7 separate regions of the Homo sapiens genome follow, and regions 1, 2, 3, 4, 5 and 6 are each linked to region 7. Evidence: promoter capture Hi-C in 16 types of primary human blood cells and fetal thymus (Javierre and others, 2016). All regions are on one chromosome and are shown on one strand. The core of a region is centred on a gene start or on the middle of the fragment in contact, and the rest is flanking DNA. Distances in the headings are between cores, read along the strand shown.

Region 1 (2,700 bases), core at 144-2,643, 310 kb before region 7:
GCGGGCACACTGCTTGAGCCCAGGAATTTGAGTCCAACCTGGACAACATGGCAAGACCCAGTATCTGTAAAAATAAAATAAAAAACAACAGCCAGGCATGGTTGTATGCGTCTGTGATCCCAGGTAGTCCAGAGGCTGAGGTGGGAGGATTGCTTGAGCCCGGGAGGTGAAGGTTGCCGTGAGCCAAGATCCTGCCACTGCACTCCAGCCTGGGTGACAGAGCGAGACCCTGTCTCAAACTTTTTTTTTAATTAAATAAATGAAAAATAAAAATAAATAAAACTACAAGGGCAACTGAAACCCCAAGTGAGATAATACATTTGCTCTTCATGGAAGAGGACAAGTGAGTAAACCCTGCTCTTCTGTGGTGGGGAGGCCATAGTTAGAATTGAAGGGGCCCCACCAGAAACAGAAATGGTGGGAAGTGGTGGCCTCTGGAGGCAAAGCTTTGGGGGCTGTGGACATCTGCTGAGACCCTGGCTGCAGACATGGCTTCCCTTCCGAGGGAGTTCATGTGAAAGTCGAGGCCCCCACCGGTATTAGAGGAGCAGCCATCTCTTTTGCTCGCAGTTAAACAAGTGCTCTCGCAGTAGGATAAGCCACAAAGGAGACACTGTAGGAGAATAAAGAGGAATCCTTCTGGAAGCCAATAGAAAAAAAAAAAAAACAATGTGGTCAGCCCTCATAAGGCTAGAACCAGAAACTTAGTTCTCTGAAGCCAAGGCACTGTAATTTCCCTCCCTCTGATGACAGTCACACCACAGAAAGGGAGCTGTCGGGAGGAAGAAGAAGGAGCCCAGAGGCACGGCTCATACCTCCCTGCTGGAAGGAGGGGTAAAGGGCACGAAAGTCCTTTGAGAAGAGAGGAAGGAGAAATAGAAATGAATAAGACAGCACCCTACACCAACCAACTTAGAGTTTAGATAGGAATGGAGACATATTTCTGAAAATACTGGAAACAATCACAGCCAAATAAGAAATCCAGTTCATTTCAACACTGAATAGTTGGGCACTGTAGCGTATTCAAGGATAATTTTTAAAAATTAAAAAGTTAAATCAGGCTGGGCGAGGTGGCTCACACCTGTAATCCTAGCACTTTGAGAGGCGGAGACAGCAGGATCATTTGAGCTCAAGAGCTTGAGATCAGCCTGGGCAACATGGGAAAACACCGTCTCTACAAAAAATACAAAATTAGGCTGGGCCCTGTGGCTCACGCCTGTAATCCCAGCACTTTGGGGGGCCGAGGCAGGTGGATCACGAGGTCAGGAGTTCGAGACCAGCCTGGCCAACATGGTGAAACCCTGTCTCTACTAAAAATACAAAAATTAGGGGAGTGTGGTGGCGGGTGCCTGTAACCCCAGCTACTCAGGAGGCTGAGGCAGAATTGCTTGAACTCGGGAGGCGGAGGTTGCAGTGAGGCGATATCGCACCACTGCACTCCAGCCTGGGCGACAGAGCGAGACTCTGTCTCGGCAAAAAAAAAAAATTCATATTAGCCCCCAGAGAAACCCCACACCCTTTAGCTGTCACCTACCTAACCTCCCATGTGGATTTCACGGAATCATACAATACTGAGTCCTTTGGACCTGGCTGATTTTACTTAGTAAACGTTTTCAAGGTTTATCGATGTTGTAGCATGTGTGACTACTTCATTCCTTTTTACGACTGAATAAAACTCCATTTGGTGGATTTATGACAGTTTGTTTATTCGTGCAATGGTTTTTAATGGATGGACATTTGAGTTGTTTTCACCTTTTGGTTACTGTAAATAATGCTGCTATAAACATCTGGTGTAAGTTTATACATACGTTATTAACTTTTGTTTTAGAGTTGGGGTCTCACTATGTTCCCCAGGCTGGTCTTGAACTCCTAGGCTTAAGTAATCCACCCACCTCTGCCTCCCAAAGTGCTGGGATTACAGGCGTGAGCCCACTGTGCCCGGCGGATTTTTGTGAGGACGTATGTTTTCACCTCTTTCAGGTGTTAACTTAGGCCTCTTTTACGGATGTTCAACAAGCAAACAGCTTTTACACACGTGAGTCAAGGCCTCTCTGTAAGTTCTGAGAGCTGTTCCCCAGGCCCTGAACCCTGACCCCCAAATCTAGCAGGTTAAGCCAAAATTCTCCTCAACTTCAAGGCCTACTTCATTCATTATGCATCCACTCAACTCACATTTCTCTATCCTCTGCTATGGGCCAGACACCCTGCAATGAGCTGGGATGAAGCAGGGGAACACCGCAGGTAAAAATGCTTGCCTGGGTGGGGCTTAAGATCCAGTGAGGGCAGGAAGGAACATATACAAGTAAATATGCTGTATGTTCCTTTCTCCATGAAGCTTTCCTGGATGTTCCAGGAAGGGACGAATTCTACTCTGGTAGTAATATATTTCTTTTCTTGTCTTTTGAGGAGTCTTGCCCATGTTGGAGTGCAATGGCGTGATCTCGGCTCACTACAACCTCTGACTCCCTGGTTCAAGGGATCCTCCTGCCTCAGCGCTCGAGTAGCTGGGATTACAGGCCCGCAATGCCACACCCAGCTAATTTTTGTATTTTTAGTAGAGACGGGGTTTCACCATGTTGGCCAGGCTGGTCTTGAACTTCCAACGTCGTGATCCGCCTGCCTTGGCCTCCCAAAGTGCTGGGATTACAGGCGTGAGCCACTGCGCCTGGCCTATTTCTTTTTTTCTTTTCTTTTCTTTTG
Region 2 (2,700 bases), core at 141-2,640, 310 kb after region 7:
CCTCCCACTTGTAGACCAAAGTTGGTATTTGTAAAGTGCTCTGAGATCTTCCCAAATAGGGCCTCCTTAAATAAAAGGTCTCCAGGGGTGCAGGAGTGGAAGAGACAGGGCTTGGAGGGCTTAGGAGTCCAGGGGCAGTGTGTATGCTCAGGAGAGCAGCCAATCCCATCTGCCCACAACTAGGATTCTTCTCAGCGCATCACTGGGGGCTCTCCCAGGGCAGTCGGCCTTCCTTTCTTGGATGTGCAAAGCGACTTAGTTGGGATTTAAGACAAAAGTAGACCTAGAACAGTTGACACCTGGAGTGGAGAGTTTTTAACACCCTCCCCATACATCAAAATTATTTTTATAGTGATAATCATGCAATCATTAGCAATCATTATTTTCTTGAGTCAGTCTGTAGTTTCTTCATTTTTAAAAAATTGACCAGTTGAACAATCTCTAGTTTCAAAACACAATTGAAAGAAAGAGTACTTTTTCATTTGAATATTATTCAAATTTAGGAACGCATCACATATGAACTAAATTTGCAGTTTGCCAGTAAAAAATTGACCTCATGATTCTCTGCCTGTTTTGGTTTTAAAGTTTAAATACAAATTTAAAATTTTTTATCACATAAAATGACAAAAGTAAGATAACCCAAGGTCTACTCCTTTCATCATTACAATCACAGTTATTATGGTTTGTTTTGAATTTACTATTTAGATGTAGGGGTTGGAGACAGTTGTCGCTCAAGGTGCAAACTCCGGGCTGGCGCTGTGTGTGAACAGATAACAACAAAATGTATGTGGCTGAGTCCACTAGGAAGACGCTTCTGTACCACATGGAGTTCTCTGAATTAACTTCCAGATATATTAAAATTATTAATGGTAAGTAAGAAATGTATCAAATTGAAGCTTACATACATATTGCTAAGATGCCATCATGTCTGCAGAGATTATTTGGAACTTTGAACAACAAAAGATTTTTTTTTTTTTTTGCAGAACAGTATTTTATCACTGATGTTATTTAGAGTTGCTAGCACTTGGTGATATCACAAGCGAACTGACTTTTAGTCAGCTGTGTTATTGTGTTTAAATTCTCTACAAACATCCCTCATTGCCTGCCTCAGGGGCAGGCGGCCCCTGCAGCTCTGTCTTGTGTATGCAGCTGATTTAAAGCCATGGCAACATCACAGTTAACACTATCTATGCACCTGTAAGAAGTGTTTAATTAAAACTAACAGTCTTGAAGTTGAGCGTCTTTATTTTAGGTGTAGGACCTCTCAGGGGTGAAGAGGAAAGCAAATGGAGAGTCTGCCAAGTCTTTTTGCTGACACCAGTGCTTAGGATCTTGAGAGCATGTTTTACAAATTGGGTGTTTGGGGCAGGGGGAGTCTGGACAACAGTTTTTCCAAGTTTCAGGCTAGTGTTTGGCACCCTCTAGTGGAAAATTTGAAAAGAGAATGATCCGATACTGTATAAAAAATGAATAGTTTATCATATAGCTTATTCATCCTTTATTAAGTACCATGCACTGAGCTAAGTCCTTTGTGTGCAATATCTAATCCTTACAACTACCTATACATTAGGAATATGAGGTCAGCGTTACTAATTATAGAATAAGCTCAGAGAGGTCAAGTAAATTGACCACAGCCACACAGCAAGGGGTGGAGCTGCTTGTCTTTCCTCTCTCCAGAGACATATGGAGTGAGCATACTTGGCATATGTAGCACAATATTTCAAGCTCCTGACCCCCATGGACACACTACCAGCTCCACACCTCAGAGCCTGGGGGCTCGAGGAGTGCCCACCCTGAACCATACTTCCAGAATTATAGTTACTTGCACAATTCTGATTGTAAGATCTAAAAGTAATTTTTTTTTTATTTTTCCCTTAAAGCTTGTGATTTGCCCTCAAAAGTAAATGCCTTGGCTTGGTTTGCCATATTTCCTTCTTAGATTCATGTTCCTTTGTGTCTTATGTTCTGGTCAGGTCACGGCAATGGCCTGCGATAGTAACTCCCAGACTTTAAATCTCATTGGCAATCTCCTTTACCTGTGACACCCCAGAGATCTTAGAATCGAAGTGAGCTCGTTCTGGGAGTGCTTTGGGAGTTATCCAATTTAGTGGTTTGTCATCATGGATCTCTTGAAAATCTTTGAAGGAAGTTTTGGTTGCCATGATGATTGGAGGGCACTAGTGATGTTTAGTCGGGAGGACACTGGATATCCTGCAATGCTCAGGACAGGTCACACAAGGAGAAATTGACCCAGGACTGGTAAGACTTTCCATCATCCTACCGGACATGCTGAGACAGAAGGCAGGCTTCAACTTGTGGTGGGATTTCAAGTTCAGAGACACATTTGCTGTGATGTGTCATTATTACTGCCACATCCCATGTCGTAACAGCAGCCCCTTTGGGGTAAGCAACGTGTGTTCATCCATTCTCACACTGCTATAAAGAACTACCTGAGACTGGTAATTTACGAAGAAAACAGGTTTAATTGACTCACAGTTCTGCAGACTTAACAGGAAGCGTGGGTAGGAGGCCTCAGGAAACTTATAATCATGGTGGAAGGTGAAGGGGAAGCAAACAAGTCTTTTAAACCATCAGATCTTGTGAGAACTCACTATGGTGAGAACAGCAAGGGGGAAACCCACCCCCACGATCCAATCACCTCCCATCAGGTTCCTACCCAAACATGTGGGGATTACAATT
Region 3 (2,840 bases), core at 341-2,840, 300 kb before region 7:
ATTATTATTTTTAGATGAAGTCTCAATCTGTCGTCCAGGCTGGAGTGCAGCCTCTGCCTCCTGGGTTCAAGTGATTCTACTGCCTCAGCCTCCCAAGTAGCTGGGATTACAGGCATGCGCCACCACGCCTGGCTAATTTTTTGTATTTAGTAGATACAGGGTTTCACCACCTTAGTCAGGCTGGTCTCTAACTCCTGACCTCAGGTGATCCAACCGCCTCGGCTACAGGCATGCGCCACCGTGCCCCACCAACTAATTGCTTTTTTAATGGTTGCTTCATATTCTATTTAACCACTTACCGTAATTTAACAGTTACTCTGTTATTGGATACTTGATTCATTTCCAGGACATGCAGATTTAGAAACTGGTGGGCGTTGCTGGTTGATGTCTCGGTGGTTGTGCCCACCCACCCCAGGCACTCATTATCATGCCTTCCGTTTCCCCACTTCCTAAGCCCTGCAAGAAGTGCCAAACTGTCCAGCCCTTGCCAATCTGATACATGCTGAATACCTCCTTGATTTTATCTGCACCTCCCTGAGGTTGAACTTATTTTACTTTATTTTATTTTATTTTTGAGGCAGAGTCTCACTGTCACCCAGGCAGGAATGCAGTGGTGAAATCTTGGCTCACTGCAATCTCCACCTCCTGGGTTCAAGTGAGTTGAAGCAATTCTCCTGTCTCAGCCTCCCAAGTAGCTGCGATTACAGGCACCTGCCACCACACCTGGGTAATTTTTGTATTTTTAGTGGAGACGGGGTTTCACCATGTTGGCCAGGCTGGTCTCAAACTCCTGACCTCAGGCGATCCACCTGCCTCAGCCTCCCAAAGTGCTGAGATTACAAGCTTGAGCCACCATGCCGGTTGAACTTATTTTTATCTGTGTTGGCCATTTGTAGTTTTTCTATTATGCTGGTTCCATTTTTCTGACTTTGAAGAGCCTTTTGTGGAAACGAAGCCTAAAGTATATGTGAGTACTGCTTTGTTTCGTCAGTTTTTGTTTTAAAGAGACTTTTCAGTGTAATGCAAGCATTTTCCCTTGAAGGCTGTGTTTCCTGTCAATCCTAAGCTTTCCTCCAGCATTACCTTTTTAAAAAACTTTATTTTCTATATTGATGGGGTCTCACAATGTTGTCCAGGCTGGTGTTGAACACCTGGCCTCAAGTGATCCACTTGCCTTGGCCTCCCAAAGTACTGGGATTATAGGCATCAGCCACCGCACCCAGCCTGTTTTTCAAAGGGCATTGATTTTTTTCATAAAACTTTTTAAATTAAGATCTGTGGGCCTGGTGCGGTGCCTCACGCCTGTCATCGCAGCACTTTGGGAGGCTGAGTCAGGTGGATCACGAGGTCAGGCGTTCGAGACCAGCCTGGCCAAAATGGTGAAACCCTGTCTTTACTAAAAATATGAAAATTAGCTGGGCATGATGGCACATGCCTGTAATCCCGCTGCTCGGGAAGCTGAGGTAGGAGAATAGCTTGAACCCAGGAGGCAGAGGTTGCAGTGAGCCGAGATCATGCCATTGCACTCCAGCCTGGGGGACAGAGTAAGACTCCGTCTCAAAAAAACAAAACAATTCTGTGTTGCATGTGGTACTTTTTGTGTGTGAGGAGTCCAGTGTGAAGATTCAGACTTCAGGCAGCCACTTGTACAAGCACTGTCCTGTTTCCTCTCTGGCCTCACCTAGGTAACGCTGATTCCTCCACGGAGGATGTGCTTCTGAGTGGTCCGTTGGGTGCTGTGCTGATGAGCATCACCCAGCATTTTACGACACATGTGCTGCCCCAGAGGGCTGGGCTCCCGTCAGAGCTCTTTTCCACTGGCTGGGTGCGGTGGCTCACACCTGTAATCCCAGCACTTTGGGAGGCTGAGGCCAGTGGATCACCTGAGGTCAGGAGTTCGAGACCAGCCTGGCTAACATGGTAAAACCCCATCTCTACTAAAAATACAGAAATTAGGTGCGTGTGGTGGCGCACACCTGTAATCCCAGCTACTTGGGAGGCTAAGAACCTGGGAGGTGGAGGCTGCAGTGAGCCAAGATTGTGCCACTGTACCCCAGACTGGGTGACATGGCCCACAGACCAAGACCCTGTCTCAAAAAAAAAAAAAAAGCTTTTTTCCAGAGCCATCTTGCTGTCCTCATATATTTATTCTCCTAGATGAATTGTTGCTTAAGCAACAATGAAGTTTAAATTGTTCTTCAGATAGAACCCCTAGGTGCCAGGCAGTTTGTTAAGCACTGACACCGCAGTCCTGTGACTTTCATGACGACCTGTGACCTGTGGGAGGTAGAACACCTCACCCACCCGTGGGAGCCCCTGGAGTGACTGACAGGAACCCCTGCCTCACCCAGCTCCCCGCGCCGCGGCTCTCCCCAGCCCTGGATGCAGGCGCCCAGGAGACATGTATTGCTTTTGTTGAGCTGCTCACTTAGGAGGGTGACTCAGAGTTCAAGCTGGAAAGCACTGGCTTGTGACTCATGAGCCAGTGCAAGATCAAACGGCTGGGGCATCGAGGTGAGAGTTTTCCTTCTCAGAAGCCTCATCTCCGCAGCCGGAAGCAGAGCCCTTGGCTGACTGGAAAAACCAGAGAGGCCCCGGGAGTGGGTGGATGGCCAGCCCAGCCCCACCTCTCAGCCTCAACCTCCACCAGCCCACACCGAGCTTGTTTGTCTGTGTCCTGTCGAAACTAGGACTCCTGGATTGTAACTTTTCTTACATTTCCCTGTCCCCTGGGTCCTCCACTTAGGGTGTAATCACACAGACAGGCTCTTAACTGTTTCATATCACTCACTTGGGAAAGTGTCTCAAGCTGTTCTACAAATCCATGCAAAGGCCGTTTA
Region 4 (2,700 bases), core at 198-2,697, 420 kb before region 7:
CATGCCTGTAATCCCAGCACTTTGGAAGGCTGAGGCAAGTGGATCCCCTGAGGTCAGGAGTTCCAGACCAGCCTGGCCAACGTGGCAAAACCCCATCTCTACTAAAAATACAAAAATTAGCCAGGTGTGGTGGTGGGCACCTGTAGTCCCAGCTACTTCGGAGGCTGAGGCAGGAGAATCGTTCGAACCCAGGAGATGGAGGTTGCAGTAAGCCGAGTTTGGGCCATTGCACTCCAGCCTGGGTGATGAGCAAGACTGTCTCAAAAAACAATAATAATAATAATATTGAGTACCTACTGTATGGCAGTGTGCGTGCAAAGCATTTTATAAGCTGTATCTCATTTCATCCTGAAAAAAAACCACGCATAACCTTCCAATGCACTTTTTGAGGAGTTCTTGAGGCTGAGATGCTAAATAATGCATCTGAGGGTCTAGGCCTGCAAAGCAGAGTGTACCCAGGAATACCATGCTCCACTGACACACCACACACAGCCCTGTGGTTGTTGGCTGCCTGCGTAAAAGCCTGCCTTAAGGGTCAGAACAAAATCAAAGTTAGTGTCATCTTCACCCTCAGACATCCCTCATCACCCCAAGAGAGACAGGCCTAAGGGCCCTTCTCCAGGGCTGAGTCTCTGTCACTCCAGAGAAGCCCTGTCTGGCTCCACTCTGGACACTGTGCATCCAACCTTGAACACAGCACTGAACCGACTCTTCTAAGGGAGAGTTTCAACTCCTCAACTCCAAAAAAGAAATCTCTCCTAGAACCTTCAGAGTCCCCTCATCCTAGCCAACGTTTCATACCAGCCATTTGGAGAACAAAGTCCATCAGTGAACTTTTCCAGGACTTTTTTTTTTTTTTTTTTTTGCAGTATCTGCCTTCAGCCAGGTAAATAAGTCAGCTGCTAGACAAGGAAGCTGTCCCTTCTCCACTAGTTCTGAGCCCCTACCTTCTCTTGGTCAGGCCACTGGTTGACAATTTGAGAGACTCCGTGTGTCGGAACTGTCTTTCCAGGCTTAAATTCAGCCTGTGTTTCATAACACCCTTTCTCTGCGCTCCTGAGCTTTCAGTGGTGCTCCAGAGGAAAGGAGAGACAGAGCAGACATTTTCACTGCCATGTTTATATCAAAGTACATTTGAAGGCAGAGGGAAAGCGCTCAGGCCTAGGCATGGGGATCCTGGTCTTTTCTCCTATTCTGCTATCAGGAAACGTGACAGCCTTAGCTGAGTCTCTGGTTTTCCCGCGGTTTGTAGAAAAGGAGGTAGCACTGAAAGGCCAGGGCCTTTTCTTCCTCGAATTCTGCAGAACCCTGTGATCTCCTCAGTCTGCCCCTCCAGGAAGAGTGAGGCCAGGGTCCAGCCCCACCCATCGCAGCCCAGCCCAGCTCTATAAAGGAGCCTCCCAGGCAGACACCACTGGGAGTTCCAACTCTGTGCCCTCTTCGGCCATGAACCTCTGTCTTTCTGCATTACTCTTTTTCCTGGTGATCTTACTGCCTTCAGGTAAGACAGTGGGCGTGAGTCTGAACATAAAAGTGGGTGTTCCCAAAGATTGAGATGCTTAAAAAACCCTCTAACTATAAGCCCAGCAACAGGACACCAATATCAAATGGGCCACCATGTTAGGGGCATGGTGAGCGGACCCCAGCTCCTGCCCTGCTCTGCTGTTGCTGCAGCTGGAAGATCTGCCAGTGCACCGGGGACGGGGGTGGATGTCATTGTGCACACAGATCGTGCAGCCACCCAGATTCCTATCTCCCCTCCAATGCCTCTGGCTACCCTGAGCTTTATCTGCCTTGCTGAGTTGTGATAAGAGGTGAGGTAAATCACAACTAACAAGCCATCAACCAGGAGGTGATGGCAAGCCTAGGATTTCTCCCAGCCTCATTAAGATTGATTTTTCTTTTCTGTGGTCTCTCCCCGCTTCAGGAAAAGGTATGTTTGGGAATGATGGAGTCAAAGTTCGCACCTGCACTAGCCAGAAAGCCGTATGTTTCTTCGGGTGTCCGCCAGGATACAGGTGGATTGCGTTCTGCCACAATATTCTGTCTTGCTGTAAAAATATGACACGTTTTCAACCCCCGCAAGCCAAAGATCCATGGGTTCATTAAAAGGATATGTGAATGGCTCAAAGTACTACACTCCTAATCTGTGTGTCAGGATCTTAGAGCTCGTAAGTGAGCCATGGGCAGAAATGAGGACCACATTCTGACAATTTACTGGCAAAATTCCAGAAACATTTTGTAAAGGCAGCACTGCCATGAAATGCATCCCCTGTTATTTTTCCTACCCTCCCATCTCCAATCACTCATTCCTCTTTCAAATTCAAATTCAGGCCAGGCGCAGTGGCTCACGCCTGCCCGCCTGTAATCCCAACACTTTGGGAGGCTAAGGTGAGCAGATCACTTGAGGTCAGGAGTTTGTGACCAGCCTGGCCAACATGGTGAAACCTCATCTCTACTAAAAATACAAAAATCTTCCGGGTGTGGTGGGTGCATGTAATCCTAGCTACTCAGGAGGCTGAGGCAGGAGAATTGCTTGAACCCGGGAGACGGAGGTTGCATTGAAAAGAGATCACGACACTGCACTCCAGCCTGGACAACAGAGTGAGATTCCGTCTCAAAAAATAATAATAAAAATTCAAATTCTATTGATTAATACAAGTTCACAGGCCCAAGCAATGATATATTCTGGCCATAGAA
Region 5 (2,822 bases), core at 188-2,687, 330 kb before region 7:
GTGAAAGTCACATCTCACATGGGGGCAAACAAGCGAAGAGAGAATTTGTGCAGGGAAACTCCCATTTCTAAAGCCACCAGACTTCATGAGACTCATTCACCATCTCAAGAACAGTGCAGGACAGACCTGCCCCCATTATTCAATCACTGCCCACCAGGTTCCTCCCACGACACATGGGAATTCTTGCAGTTACAATTCAAGATGAGATTTGGGTGGAGACACAGCCAAACCATGTGCAGTGGCACAATCGGCCCACTGCAACCTCTGCCATCCAGGTTCAAGCAATTCTCATGCCTCAGCCTCCTGAGTAGCTGGGATTACAGGCATGTGCCAGCACACCTGGCTGATTTTTGTATTTTTAGTAGAGACAAGGTTTCACCATGTTGGCCAGGCTGGTCTTGAACTCCTGACCTCAAGTGATCTGCCCACCTCAGCCTCCCAACATGCTGATGCCTGGCCCGATTTCTTCTTTTTCAATATAATGTGGAATTATCTGATATCTGGATCCAATTTAGTTGTTTATGGAACTGAAACTTCCATTTATTTTGTGGATTATTTCCAAAAACTGATTGGGACTTTGTGTCCGATTTCATTCGTTTCTGTGTGTCATCAAAAGCTGTATTTGTTATGGAGATTAATAATATGTTCTAATTCCCCAGAACTTAGCCATGTCTAACCCTGATATGGACAAGGTTCCATCACCTTTTATAAGACCTTTACAGTAAGTCTTCAATAAATATTTGTTGAATGAATGAGTAAATGACTGAATGGATGGGTGAATGGACACTTTCGCTGGCTTGGGTTTGGGCAGACAGTAGGAAGTGGGGGCCACTGTTTCACCAAAGGAATCACGCTGGAGAAAATCCCTGCATAGCATTGAGTTGTGCAACTATAAATCTATTCCCATAAATTCCAATCAATCCTGTAAACTTCAGAGCAAAAATGCCAGGCTGTGTTAGTTTGCTCAGGCTTCCGTAACAAAATACCACAGGCTGGGCAACTTAACAATAGGCGTTCGTTTTCTCACAGTTTTGGAGGTTAGAAGTCTGAGATCAAGGTGTTGGCATGGCTGGTTTCTCCTCAGGCTATGCCTTCTCCGTGTCCCCACATGTTGTTGGGTTTTTTTTTTTTTCTGTGTATGTGCAGCCTTCATGTCTCTCCCTCCTCCTATAAGGACACCAATCAGATTGAATTAGAGCCCACCCTAACAGCCTCGTTTAACTTAACTACCTCTTTAAAGACCGTGTCTCCAAAGACTGGGTGTGGTGGCTCACAATGTAATCCCAGCACTTTGGGAGGTGGGAGCGAAAAGATTGCTGGAGCCCAGGAGTTTGAGACCAGCAGGGCAACATAGTGAGGCTCTGTCTCTACAAACTGTTTAAAAAAACAGCTGGGTGTGGTGGCGCATGCCTGTAGTCCCAGCTACTCAGGAGGCTGAGGCAGGAGGATCGCTTCAGCCAGGTAGAAGAGGCTACAGTGAGCTATGATCATGCCACTGCACTCCAGCCTGGGCAACACAGCAAGATCCTGTCTCTAAAACAAAACAAAAATCAAAACCTTATCTCCAAATATAGTCACATTCTAAGGTAGTTGGGCTTAGGACGTCACTGTGTGACTTTGAGGGAAGTCACTATTTAGACCATACCACAGACCAGGCCTCGTTTTTGCAGGCCTTCCTGTCCTTGCCTCTCACCATCAGACCCTGTCAGTCCCCAAGTCAGTTGACTGAGGAGCCTTCTATCAGCAGCCCCAGACCATTCTTATGGGGGTGTGAGGGGACAGTGCAGGTCCCTAGAGGATATGTCCATCTTCTTTACTCTGGGGATCAGCCCAGAGTCTGGGGGCCACAGTGGACCCCTCTGAACAGCTGCTCCCCAACCCACACACTCCCACTCCCTTCAATGGGGCACCTCCCTACACGCCCGGCCCTCCTGCACTGCTCCTCAATTCCCATCCCTAACCTTGTCTCCTCACACAACTCCAAACCCTGAACTGCCTCCCAATGGCCCTCAGATTTAGCAGTGGCTGTAGACAGATTCGTGCAGGCACAAACCCTGATAGTAGGAAGCTCCCGAGGTGCCACTCCGCCCGAGCCCACGAGCATAGCGCTCACCCTTCCGGCGGTCCTCCCTCCCTCGTTGCTGTTCCTCCTCTTCCCCTTCCTGATCCCTCCTTGGATGGCTGACCTTTCAGCTTAAAGTCTCTGGCTCACTCCTGGGACCTGTGGAGAACGTTTTGGTTTGGTTTGGTTTTGGCTGTTCTCGCTACGCTGGTGAACTCTCAGTCCCGTGGAACTGATGCCATCTGTGCACTGATTGATTGCAAATCCATGTCCCCAGCTTGGCTCTCTGTGAACTCCAGACTCAGCTCTGTTCAGTGTCTTGGCTCGAATGTTTAATAAGGCATCTCATTCTTGACATGCCCCAAACTGAGCTCCTGCTCTCCCCCATAAAACTTCCTCCTCTGAAGTCTTCCCCACCCACGTTTATAGCATTCCCATTGTTGCACAACCATCTCCACCATCCATCTCCAGAACTTTCTCATCCCCCAGCTGAAACGCTACACCTATTAAACACTAGCTCCCCCTTCCCCAGCTCTTGACAGCCCCCATTCTACTTCCTGGGCCTGGGCTTTTACTTTGATGGTGTGGGCGCGATTGGTGGCCTTTGAGCAGAGGAGTGTATGATTTGACTTGGGTTTTAAAGAAGCCCTCGGGCGCTGCGTTGAGACTGACATGCCAGGCGTGAGGGAGAAAGCAGGACGCAGGGGGTCATTAGGAGGAGCCCAGAGGCTCAGCCAAAAAAAAAAAAAAAAGAAGCTGG
Region 6 (3,034 bases), core at 93-2,592, 430 kb before region 7:
TTTCAAGCTTGTAGATGGCCATCTTTTTGCCGTGACCTTCACTAATAAGACCATCAATCCTATTGGATTAGCCTATCAATCTTATTGGATTAGGGTTCCACCATCATGACCTCATTTAACTTATATTACTTCCTGAAGGCCCTATCTCTAAAGACAGTCACATCAGGGGTGAGGGTTTCAGCATATGAATTTTGGGGTGACACAATTCAGCCCCTACCACTAATTAATTTTTTCAGTTACAGGATCAATTATCATAACCAAATCTCCTTGGTATCCGGTTGGATAAAAATTGAGGGACTAGCAATTTTATGGTCCAAAAAGGCCTGTAGTGAATTATCTTTCTATTCATTTTCCTTCCAGGTATAAATTCATTATCATCAGAAATGCACAAGAAATGCTATAAAAATGGCATCTGCAGACTTGAATGCTATGAGAGTGAAATGTTAGTTGCCTACTGTATGTTTCAGCTGGAGTGCTGTGTCAAAGGAAATCCTGCACCCTGACATAAGAAACCAATGAATGGCCACTATCCTGTAGGCCCTTGATTCTGCCATCTTTCACAAAACCAGGGAATTTAGATCAAACTGTGACACCATGATGTGTCCATGACTACTGGTTTTTAGCATTTTTATAGGCCAGCAGACTCTTGTGGTCTTAAATTTAAAGAGCTGAGCTGTAGCCTTCTTTAAAAGAGCTCGGTTTTTCACAAAAACAATGTAGAAGATATTTTCTCACCTCAACGTGATGTCCAGTGTGCTCATCAGCACCTGTTTCTCCCTCTAATCATAGAGGATATTCTTATTATTTAGAAAGGCTTCAAGGGAAACAACTTTTGACACCTAAGTCGTGTCCTACCTTCGCTTCAGCTTCGCATTTCCCATTTCTGTGAAATTCCCAACTTTAGAGAAGCAGATTTGCCATGGCCTTCTGACAACCTTGTACATCTCTCACATAAACCGCATAGGCAGGGCTTAACTACAGGCTGGCCCGAGTCTGCACTGAGTCTGACCCTGAAGTTCCTTTGGAACAGGAGAGGCCATCTTGTGATGGGCTGGAACAAGGTAATTTCTCATCCACCTCCCTAGTTTCAGTTGAGCAATGGAACTTCCCACCTGAGCCCCTAGGGTTCAGCTACAGGCTATAAGACTGCCGTCCTGTGGTTTAGTGTTGGTTCCTTAGCAGCAGAGTGATGCCACCTCTGCTGCCCGTCATCTGACTCCTCTGGATGGGTGTTATCCTGTGGCTTAAGAGCTAACACCATGCTGATCTTGCTTTGCTATATGTGTAACTAATAAACTGCCTAAATGCATTTGGACTCATGATTTTCTTTACCAATAAACTTTATGAAGGTGTAACAGGAAAACTTAGCAACTTCTGTCATGTTGCTTCTGACCCTACTGGCTACGCTGGTGAATTCTTGCTTGATTTTTCAACAACATTCACCCTTATGGATGCATGAATGTGTGAGTTCTGTATCTGCTGCTCACGATAAAGACTGGGTGGCAAAGGAGAGTAGATTCTGGCTATGGAGCAACTTTCATGATCTTCAGTGCTCGATATGGCTCAGGCTCTCTAGTGATGTGAGACTGAGAGTGTGGGGCTCTTGCCGCAAATAGCTGGTTGCTGATGTGGTACAAGGAAAAGGATACAGCGTCTTAGTTCTGGGGCTGACATGACAGTACTGCCTGCCCAACCACACATGGCTGCTGGGAAGGGATGAAAAGAGAACAGCAGGTGAAAAAGCATGAGGGGTTGTAAGGAGTTCTGTACTTCCAGCAAATGTCCAACCTTTGAGCAAATTCAGTGTTGGTGTCTTTGGAGAGGAAGGTACTAAAAATCCAGTAGAATGTGTCCTCTCTGAGGCCCAGACTCCCTATGTAGACTGTAAGGAGTTTGGTTAAAATTGAATGGGATCAGAGATGGCCTGGAATTGTAACTATGGTTACTAAGTGTGCAGAGTAAATGCATCCAGACATGGCTAGGAAAACTGTCAGACACTGAGGGAGACAGAGGGGTCCCTACTGGAAGAGCACCAAATCTTCTGAAACTTTGGCCTCATAACGTCCTGGACAGTCTTAGGCTTGCTTTTCATCTCACTCCTCCTAGTTGGGTGCAAGTTCTCTACACATACAGATAAAGAGAAACCTGAAAACAATCCAGCCTGCTGACAATCTGAAGAATGAGGTGTGATGACACTTTACAGACTAACTAGAAAGCTGATCCCCAAAGCCAGGGAGTGAATCTACGTTCTCTATGCTAGAAAGTACTCTCTGGAATCTGGCTAAGTCCTGCATGGACAGAACTTTCCACTGCTACATGATATCAAAATAAGGCTATTACATCAGGGCCAGGCAACCTCTATGCCTTAGACCCTGCTCTACTATTCGCACTAGCCAATATTAAACCTGCTTATCCCAACTCCCTGCTCCTTCCAACAGAAATTTGCTAATCCTGCACTGCCTTCACCTTACCCTTGACAAGCCATATACCCTGTCAGGAAATGAACTTTGTAACAACCAAGGTAGCTGCAAACTTTATTCTTTTGAGAGAAAGTGTGTATGTTATATGCACACCCTCCAGCTTTGCTGAAGGAACCTGAACAGATATTCACTAACTTTGGTTGGTCTCTGTACATTGACACTTCCAAAAGAAATCCAATTCCAAGATCCAAAGCTTTTTAAAAAATAATTTAATTATTTACCAAATCTATCTGTATGGAAACAAAATGGGGAAGGGATTTGTCACAATATGGAGCAAACTCTCTTCAAAATTCTTTCTGAATATCGCTCCCTGAAATCTTACTCATTCAGTAGTGAAAACTGCATTGTCTAAAAGCAACATCTAGAATTTATCTGGGATATCTAGAATTCGTAATAGAGATTCTGAGAAGCCTCAAGGGTAAGAACAAGCTCTGTCTTTAGGGAAACTCATTTTTACTTAGAGCTAATTTTTGACATTTTTTCCAATTTTATTGAGATATGATTGCCAAATAAAAATTGTATATTCAAGGTGCAGGACATGGCTTGATTCCATA
Region 7 (2,700 bases), core at 77-2,576:
AAGAAGAGCCCAGAAGGGCCGGGTGTGTGTCTGCTCATGTGTGTGTAAGTTTGCGTGTTTGTGTGTGTGTTTGTGTGTGTGAGTTTGTGAGTTTGTGTAAATGTGTTTGTGTGAGTTTGTGTTTGAGTCTGAGTCTGTGTATTTGTGTGTCTGTGTGAGTTTGTGTGTGTGAGTCTGTGTGTCTGTGTGTGTGTCTGTCTGTGTGTGAGTTTGCGTGTCTGTGTGAGTCTGTGTATGTGTTTGTGTTTGTCCGTGTGTGTGTGAGTCTGTGTTTTTATGTGTGTGAGAGTGTGTGTGTGTACATGTGTGCTTAGAGAGCCATTGGCATGGTCAGCATGTGGTTAGAGGCTGCCCTTCTGGGAAGTTCTGATTTTCTGGCTCCTCACCCCCGATTCTGTGGCTACATCCAGGTATTAAACTCCGATGGCTTTTCACATCCTTTGCCCCTGGGTCACACGAGATTTCCCAAGGGGGTGTAGTGGGGATTGAATAGGAGACAGCGGAGGGTGAGAGAAGGAAGGGGAAAGGAAGCAGCAGCAGTGGGCAGGCTTATCACTGCCCTGGGGTTTGAAGCCGGTTACCAGCACTCATTTTCCAAAACCAGCCTGCCCAGATGGCTGTCTGCCCACCTCAGCGGAAAAAGGCGTTGTGGCATCAGTTCCTGCAGCGGCGCTACTGGGTAAGGCTGGGCGAGGGGCGAGGTGGGAGGGCTGATGTGGGCGGTGGGTGGGAGCGTTTCCTCTCGGTGGCAGCTGTATGTGTGTGTGTATGTGTACGCACGTGTGTGCCTCACAGGCTGACCACAGACCAAAACTTTTCTGCTGAGAGTTCCAGTTTTAACAGGGCCACCAGATGTGCTTCCTGCCAGCTAGAGCTCTCGGCTAAAACCCTCCTCTCCACTCTGCTCTTCACCCCATGGAGTCCAGAAAGTTCTGCATGTGAACGTGAGGGACACTGAGGACCAGTCCTGGGTAGCCAAGGAGGTCCAGCACTCGCAATTCCCTGGTGGCAGAAGGTGGGGCTGTCCTCCAGGGCTCAGAGAAGTCATGTCCCTGGCATCTGTGTGTAGCTCAGGCCTGCCCATCAGCCTGGGGTCGACGCCAGGGCTGTGCAAAGGCTGAGGGCCCCTGGGATGGGAAGTCCTACAGGAGATGTTTGTGGGCACCATCTAAGGAAGAGATGAGGTCACAACAGAACACACTTGCCTGCCGGGTTCAATGGAACTCTTGCTAACTCTGTGTGTTTCCCATGACATTCATTCGCCCTCTCTTCCTTCGGAACAGAATAGCCTCATTCCAACACAGCAGCCCGGGTCTAAGGCTCCATTCCCTGGGCTCCCTCACAGCTGCGTGGGGCAGGAGGCACAGTGGCCAGGGTTTGCAAGTCCAAGTGCAGTGGGTGACCTTGGGGATATCTGCCTAGAGGAAGGTGGCCTTCAGTACCCCCTGACTTCTCCTGCTGGCTGAGAGGATGGGGTGGTAAGGCACGAGCAGCCATTGTGGGCAGCAGGTGGCACATGCCGCCCTTTCTCTGCACCTGGTACTTCACCAACCTGCGCCGACATGTCAATCAGCCTTGGGAGTGACAATCTGCTCCCTTCATCTGTCTTCAGGAAATCCAGCAGGCATCCTAAGAAAAGAGAAGTTGCAAGTGCCCTTCTGCAAAGTGACCCGCCCCTGGTGGTGCCAGCCTCTCTCTGGTGTGAGTGGCTCCCCATGGGCGCGGGAAGTGGGAGTTTGCACCCTCAGATCTCTCGGTGCATCAGGAAGGATCTACCTACTGCTGCCGAGTGCCTTCCACTTTACAAAATGCCAGTCTCAGCACCCCGGGAGGCAGCCAATATACCAGCAGTTGCCCAGAAGTTAGGTTTCAGCCAGGTGCAGGGACCTGTCTGAAGTCACCCAGCCGGGAGCTGGGAGTGGGACCCCAGTTCTGACTCGAAGTTTCATGCCCCTTCTTGTCTTTCCCCCCGTGTTGGCCTCGCTCCCTTGATCCCTGCTGGCAGACACCCTCTGCCTCTGAGGACCAGGCATCAGCAAGAAAGCACCAGAATGGAGAGAACTGTCCCCCAGGTTTGGTGCAGGGGACAAATGCAGCTCCCCCTGGAATCAGAAAGCTGGGAGGGATGGATGCTTGCCCTAGGGGCAGGCTAGAGGCACCCCCAGCACAGCCTCCGACCGGGGGCCCCTTGGTGACAGTTGTTAGGGAGCTATATCAACATGGGCATGTTAGGATCCTATAGGAGCAGTGTGCGGTCAGGGTCATAGGAGGGTGAGAAAGTGGCATGAGAACTTGGCCACGCCGTGGACCTCAGAGGCCATCAAGCCCAACCTCTCTGGCCATCCTTGTAAAATATTCACACAGTTGTAAATGGTTGCATGACCAGGAGGCAGGAGACCTGGATCTAGTACTGTCCCTGCATGCCTGGCCTGGTGTTCGTCTGACTTTGCAATGCTCTGTCCCTCCCAGCAGGCATCAAAGAGTGCTAGGCACAGAAGATGCACTCCAGAAATGCTGTCTGAACTGCTCCTGGGCTGAGAACATGGCTCTGTCAGAACCACTTCACCCTCCTGTTTCTCACCCTCCCTCTGTCCCTCCCCCTCCCTCCATCCCTCCCTGTCCCCACACCGTGCCATGCCCTAGATCTGCAGGACCCCCTGGCCTGGTGAACCCACCGCAGCGGACCCTCCTCCTCCTGCT

The links. The method cuts DNA at HindIII sites, captures the fragments that hold promoters and counts their contacts. A CHiCAGO score of 5 or more calls a contact.
Region 1: a contact is called between a fragment that was not itself captured here and the fragment with the promoter of BLK-AS1 in region 7, in 2 of 17 cell types (naive B cells and total B cells). The highest score is 6.4, in naive B cells.
Region 2: a contact is called between a fragment that was not itself captured here and the fragment with the promoter of BLK-AS1 in region 7, in 2 of 17 cell types (naive B cells and megakaryocytes). The highest score is 6.4, in naive B cells.
Region 3: a fragment that was not itself captured here is called in contact with the fragment with the promoter of BLK-AS1 in region 7 in 1 of 17 cell types (total B cells); the score reaches 5.9 in total B cells.
Region 4: a contact is called between the fragment with the promoter of DEFB136 here and the fragment with the promoter of BLK-AS1 in region 7, in 16 of 17 cell types (non-activated CD4 T cells, activated CD4 T cells, naive CD4 T cells and 13 more). The highest score is 16.2, in non-activated CD4 T cells.
Region 5: a fragment that was not itself captured here is called in contact with the fragment with the promoter of BLK-AS1 in region 7 in 2 of 17 cell types (naive B cells and total B cells); the score reaches 7.7 in naive B cells.
Region 6: a fragment that was not itself captured here is called in contact with the fragment with the promoter of BLK-AS1 in region 7 in 10 of 17 cell types (M1 macrophages, activated CD4 T cells, monocytes and 7 more); the score reaches 9.3 in M1 macrophages.

Annotation. Positions count from the first base shown.
Region 1 is chr8:11,870,385-11,873,084 of GRCh38, reverse strand. No RefSeq gene overlaps it. Among named protein-coding and RNA genes, the nearest start is that of CTSB, 3.6 kb to the right of the region's middle. The HindIII fragment of the contact is 1,889 bases long and covers 449-2,337 here.
Region 2 is chr8:11,245,795-11,248,494 of GRCh38, reverse strand. It overlaps LINC00529 (long intergenic non-protein coding RNA 529), which reads left to right. Exons shown (of 5, transcript NR_170283.1): 5 at 706-1,231. Among named protein-coding and RNA genes, the nearest start is that of LINC00529, 37 kb to the left of the region's middle. The HindIII fragment of the contact is 984 bases long and covers 899-1,882 here.
Region 3 is chr8:11,853,760-11,856,599 of GRCh38, reverse strand. The region is part of intron 1 of CTSB (cathepsin B); the gene reads left to right. Among named protein-coding and RNA genes, the nearest start is that of CTSB, 13 kb to the left of the region's middle. The HindIII fragment of the contact is 1,044 bases long and covers 1,069-2,112 here.
Region 4 is chr8:11,973,346-11,976,045 of GRCh38, reverse strand. DEFB136 (defensin beta 136) reads left to right here and starts at 1,447. Exons shown (of 2, transcript NM_001033018.2): 1 at 1,447-1,501; 2 at 1,928-2,109. The coding sequence starts at 1,447. The coding sequence ends at 2,109. The HindIII fragment of the contact is 18,049 bases long and covers 1-2,700 here.
Region 5 is chr8:11,887,693-11,890,514 of GRCh38, reverse strand. No RefSeq gene overlaps it. Among named protein-coding and RNA genes, the nearest start is that of CTSB, 21 kb to the right of the region's middle. The HindIII fragment of the contact is 3,746 bases long and covers 1-2,822 here.
Region 6 is chr8:11,991,449-11,994,482 of GRCh38, reverse strand. DEFB134 (defensin beta 134) reads left to right here. Exons shown (of 3, transcript NM_001302695.2): 3 at 361-1,309. The coding sequence ends at 503. Among named protein-coding and RNA genes, the nearest start is that of DEFB134, 7.8 kb to the left of the region's middle. The HindIII fragment of the contact is 2,666 bases long and covers 10-2,675 here.
Region 7 is chr8:11,556,891-11,559,590 of GRCh38, reverse strand. BLK-AS1 (BLK antisense RNA 1) reads left to right here and starts at 1,326. Exons shown (of 5, transcript XR_948956.3): 1 at 1,326-1,701. It overlaps BLK (BLK proto-oncogene, Src family tyrosine kinase), which reads right to left. Exons shown (of 13, transcript NM_001715.3): 10 at 1,553-1,629. RefSeq lists an enhancer at 867-1,156. The HindIII fragment of the contact is 8,296 bases long and covers 1-2,700 here.